Regions from separate parts of the Homo sapiens genome. Here region 2 is linked to region 1. The links are contacts of gene promoters, found by promoter capture Hi-C in blood cells and fetal thymus (Javierre and others, 2016). All regions are on one chromosome and are shown on one strand. Each heading gives the region's core, a stretch centred on a gene start or on the middle of the fragment in contact. The rest is flanking DNA. Distances are from core to core; before and after follow the strand shown. Region 1 overlaps LOC105378250 (a long non-coding RNA gene). Region 2 holds the start of HOXC6 (homeobox C6).

What was found. Contacts are between HindIII fragments. The CHiCAGO score rates a contact against its expected background, and 5 or more counts as called.
Region 2: a contact is called between the fragment with the promoter of HOXC6 here and a fragment that was not itself captured in region 1, in 1 of 17 cell types (M1 macrophages). The highest score is 5.7, in M1 macrophages.

What each region holds. Positions count from the first base shown.
Region 1 is chr12:53,788,873-53,791,572 of GRCh38, forward strand. All of the region lies in intron 1 of LOC105378250 (a long non-coding RNA gene), which reads left to right. Among named protein-coding and RNA genes, the nearest start is that of CISTR, 38 kb to the left of the region's middle. The HindIII fragment of the contact is 313 bases long and covers 1,295-1,607 here.
Region 2 is chr12:54,026,995-54,029,694 of GRCh38, forward strand. HOXC6 (homeobox C6) reads left to right here and starts at 1,446. Exons shown (of 2, transcript NM_004503.4): 1 at 1,446-1,927; 2 at 2,661-2,700. The coding sequence starts at 1,528. It also overlaps a transcript of HOXC4 not described here and a transcript of HOXC5 not described here. The HindIII fragment of the contact is 15,214 bases long and covers 1-2,700 here.

The DNA of each region.
Region 1 (2,700 bases), core at 201-2,700:
TAACTCATTGAAAGTCATGTGTGTATACATGCTTTGTGGACACATGTTTGCATTGGGCTGGAAATAGGCATTAAAGAGTAAGGTATGCTTATCTCCGTAGGTCCATCAACATATTTGTTAGACTTTTTGTGTATGTTGTGTATGTGTGTGTACAAATCCTGAATGAGTTAAACCAGCTATAGGGAACTGGCTGCCTTCCACCCCTGATCTTGGCTGATGTGTTTGTACCAAACCCTGATATTTATTTTTCATCACCTCTCAAGGGAACTTCAATGAGTTTTCTTTCTGGGAAGTTTATGGCTAAGATGCTGGGCTGCTTTGGGGCCCTTATAAATCTGCTATAATCAGAGGAGGTTTGCAGAGAAAGAGAAACAGCAGCCACAAGGCAATCCTCTCCTGTCCTTTACTTTCTAGCCTAACACACAGTCGCCCTTGTATGAGTACCACCCACATCTACCATCACTCTCCTAGAACCCCTTGATAGAAGGTGCTCAGATAATTCGTTTTATTTATTTCTTTGCTTCTAAGTGGGCCTCTATACTTTGTCAGAAAGAGGAGAATTAAAAAATGTACAAATACATCTACAGTTGAGATTATGAGAAACTGGTTATTTAAACAGTGGTTCTGTTTTATTAAAAAAAAACAAAAAGAATGAGAACAAACTTTTGCAGAAGCAAGGATGGTAAGAGGAGTTGAAAGCCCCTGCATGCTTTTGTAGAAAACTTTAAGAAAAGATTGTCTGTGATGCTCCTGGAAGCAAAAAGCTGGATGATCTGAACATTATTAGGAGGCAAACACAACACAGGAATTCCCTTCCTCCATCTTTCAATGCTGGTAGTTGGGAGATTTTTTTATGAGGGATTTTTATGACAAACTTTACTTTATATTTGACATTTAACAGCATCTCCTGTCCAGGGCATGAGGAAATATAGATATTTATTGACATATGGTGTCAGAAGATCGAGGAAAATTGACTCTGGAGAAGGAAGGGGGAGGGGTTTCTCCCTTTCCCTAGGTATGCAAATTACCCAGCTTAATTTGTGTAGCATATGCTTTTCTGTGCTTTGTGCTTTTCTCAGTAATGAGATTAAGAAATCATTTCATTGTTAATAAAGAACTCAGTGGGGGAAGAGGGAAGATGAGAGACATATAGAAGGAAGCACAATGGGCACCCTGTCCTGTTTGAACCTTATATGCATTCCTTAAATAACACTGGATACAATAGACGTGGGGACAAATGGAACCTGAACTGGGATCCAGGTCCTGGTTCTTGTCATCCTTTTTTAAAACCTCAAGCTTCTGCAGTTTTATCTTGAATTTCACTGTTCTTTGCATTTCTAATAATAAATAGCAGTTCCATATCAAATGATCCCCAAAATCAAGAATTCCTTCCCATTAGCTGTCTTTTCCCTGGAATTCCTTCCTCCCAATTTCTGACTGCTGAAATCCTACACAATCATCATGGCTTAGCTTAGATGTTACCCCCTGTCCGAGCCTTCCTGGATAGCCCTACCTGGAAGCAATTTCTTTACTTTCAACTCCTATCCTCCTTTGACTGATTGTCAGCTATAGTTGTGCGTCTTCTGTTTCTCCCTTACTCAACTATAAGCTTTTGGAGCAGAGGGACTGTGTCCTGAATATTTTATATTCTCTACACAATGTTTAACATAGAGCAAACAATTGTTAAATAAATTTAATGAAGCGGCCGGGCGCGGTGGCTCACACCTGTAATCCCAGCACTTTGGGAGGCCGAGGTGGGCAGATCATGAGGTCAGGAGATCGAGACCATCCTGGCTAACACAGTGAAACCCCGACTCTACTAAAAAAAAAAAAATACAAAAAAATTAGTCGGGCATGGTGGTGGGCGCCTGTAGTCCCAGCTTCTCGGGAGGCTGAGGCAGGAGAATGGCGTGAACCCGGGAGGCGGAGCTTGCAGTGAGCAGAGATCACGCCACTGCACTCCAGCCTGGGCAAGAGAGCGAGATTCCATCTCAAAAAACAAAAAACAACAACAAAAAAATAAATTTAATGAGTGGTATACAGTTGTAAGTAAGAGGCCATGGGTAGAGATGTGGAAGTAAGGGCATTATGGATATTTTAAAGACATTAGTGTTGGCAGGGCGTGACGGCTCACGCCTGTAATCCCAGCACTTTGGGAGGCCGAAGCAGGAGGATCATGAGGTCAGGAGATCGAGACCATCCTGGCCAACATGGTGAAAAATCCCGTCTCTAATAAAAATACAAAAATTAGCTGGGCGTGGTGACACGTGCCTGTAATCCCAGCTACTTGGGAGGCTGAGGCAGGAGAATCGCTTGAACCAGGGAGTCGGAGGTTGCAGTGAGCCGAGATTGCGCCACTCCTCTGCCTGGAGGCAGAGCGAGACTCTGTCTCAAAAATAAATAAGTAAATAAATAAAATAAGATATTATTGTTAATACATGATGATCTCACTCCAACTTGAACTCTAATATGTTGTCATAAAAAGGCTATTTACGTGAGTTTATAATAGCATAAAATGTATATGATGGTGTATTTTTTTAAGTGTATATTATTTTTATTTTTAAGTGTATGTTATTTAAGCAATGTAAAAAATTGTTCATAGAAAAATCTGGAAATAAACGTCAAAATGCTAAGAAAGAAGATACTATTGTTATTAAGATCTGGACATGATATATATCATATTATAGGGAAGTTTTTATC
Region 2 (2,700 bases), core at 196-2,695, 240 kb after region 1:
CCCCGCACACTCCCCACCACCCTTCTTTGTCAACTCAAGGCATTTTCAGCCTATATCACGATATCAAATTAAGTTTGGACTAATCAGGAGAAAACCCCCATCTGCACACTTTCCGCTGTTTCAGTTCGCCTACTGCGGCTCCCTCACAAGCCTCGGATTCAGCTGCCTTTTCGTAACCGTCTCTTCCCTTTTTTTAGCCCCAAGATGGGGGAATAAAATGGGCGTTGAGGTTGCTGAGAGGCCCATCCCCACCACGGGTGACTGGCACTTGGGTGAGAGCTCCTTAGAACCCCTTTCTGAAGTCTCCAAGCCTCATAGCTCAGGTCCAGGGGCGCCTCCACTGGCGGTGCCCTGAGTCTGGAGGGGGCAGGGGGGCTTCTGACCAAGGCAGGGGCTTGAGCCTGCAGGAAGCTAACTGTCCATCAGAGCCCCACCAGCCTTCTCTTTCTGGCTGGATCCTATGTGAATTACCCCACAGGCCCTCACTGGCTCCAAATAATAAATTCTCACCAACATAAACAGGAGTTGATGTCTCTAGAAAGATTCTCAGAGTTTTCGTTCTTCCTCTCTCTCTCTTTCTCTCTGTCTTTCCCCCTCCGGTGCCACCTCCCTACATTTTACTTCTTTTTCTCCTTTTTCTATTGCATTTTTTATACATTTTCCCTTTTAGGCAAAAATGCTGGAAGAGTTTTCCCAACAGAGGGGTCCTGAGAAGGAGGCAGAAGGGAGCCAGGAGGCAAAGGAGAGCAGATGCGTGGCCCATTTGCCCACTCCAGCTCTGCCACTGTACCCTGAAGTCTTGCCCCTTTAGACCTAGTTGTTCCCCACATCCCTACTACATTCAAGACTCTCAGCCACACTCTACTTACTCAGGGGAACAGGTTTTATGAAATTTCTTTCTACTTTTGATTTTTTTTTAATTATTGGTGAAAAAAATACTAGTTTAGTGATGGGACTCACTCCATGGAGTGTCAAAACAGGATTTCCTGCAGGATTTCTAGGGACCCCCCTCCTGTGCTGGGAGGGAGTTCTTCCCTTGGAGAAATCAGGATGTAATTTTAGAAGGGGGCAGATATAAAACATGAAACCAGATTGAAAATACAGGGGTTTCTCTAGCCCTGGCTCTGGCCACAGCACAGCAAAGTTAGCTGGGGCTGAGAGATTTCCTGGTAGTACAGCTCTCCTTCCCTGAGTCCCAAGGCCCTGCTCAGGGACATGCACCCCTCCTTCACCACCAAACCAGTTCCCTTACATATATATATATATATATATATTTTTTAAAAGAAATCCAAGTCTTACTTTCAAAGCACACACTTAGTCTCAACTAGGGAATCAACAGAAGCAGAAGCGATTTTTTTCCCCCTTCCTGACATCTGGCTTGCGATTGGCTGGGAGGGGGTCAGCTGACTTTGTCATTTTGTCTGTCCTGGATTGGAGCCGTCCCTATAACCATCTAGTTCCGAGTACAAACTGGAGACAGAAATAAATATTAAAGAAATCATAGACCGACCAGGTAAAGGCAAAGGGATGAATTCCTACTTCACTAACCCTTCCTTATCCTGCCACCTCGCCGGGGGCCAGGACGTCCTCCCCAACGTCGCCCTCAATTCCACCGCCTATGATCCAGTGAGGCATTTCTCGACCTATGGAGCGGCCGTTGCCCAGAACCGGATCTACTCGACTCCCTTTTATTCGCCACAGGAGAATGTCGTGTTCAGTTCCAGCCGGGGGCCGTATGACTATGGATCTAATTCCTTTTACCAGGAGAAAGACATGCTCTCAAACTGCAGACAAAACACCTTAGGACATAACACACAGACCTCAATCGCTCAGGATTTTAGTTCTGAGCAGGGCAGGACTGCGCCCCAGGACCAGAAAGCCAGTATCCAGATTTACCCCTGGATGCAGCGAATGAATTCGCACAGTGGTGAGTTTTACAGCTCCGAGATATAAATTAAATAAACTGAACTGGCTTTATGACCGGCTTCCCTAGAAGAACGGGCGGAGAGAGTTTTTTATGGCCCCATAAAAACAATCACGCTCGTCTCCTCACCGAGACAGGGCCCCCTCTTCTGCCCCCTCAGCTCGCCTCTCGCTCGCTTGCAGGGGCCTGGCCCCCTTGGCCCCTGACGGATTGGAGGGCCCCAAGGCGGGCTGAGGGGGCAGGAACAGGGCAGGGGATGAGGGGAGGGAGCAGAAGATAGGGGAGCCCCCCAAAGTGGAGTCAGTCTGAGGAGAAGGGAGGGGGAGAGGAGAGGCAGATAAGTGGGGAGAAGTTTCCAAGGAACTAGGATGCTTGGGGAGATGGGGGAGCCCAGTCCTTGAGAAAGGGGGCCCTCATCCCCATTATCTGGGATTTTTCAAAAATCTGCTTTTAGACTTGCAGCTTTCTGTTTGCCTTTTGCCCCGCCCCCCCGCCCCCCCCCCCACCACACACCTTTCTTTGGGACACACAGGTCCCACCTTATAGGAGGTCTGAAGTTGGGGTCCTCGCTGTACCCCCAGTGGGGGTGGGGCAAGGCAAAAGGGAGAAGGCTAGAGCCCTAAGGAGGCTGTGAGCTGCTGGCCAGGTTGGGAGGGTCAGGACTTTGCTAGGCGAAACAGTCTGCAGAGGACGCTTTGCTGATTGCTTTTAGTGTGTTTTGTGCCCGGATCTTTAGGGGTCGGCTACGGAGCGGACCGGAGGCGCGGCCGCCAGAT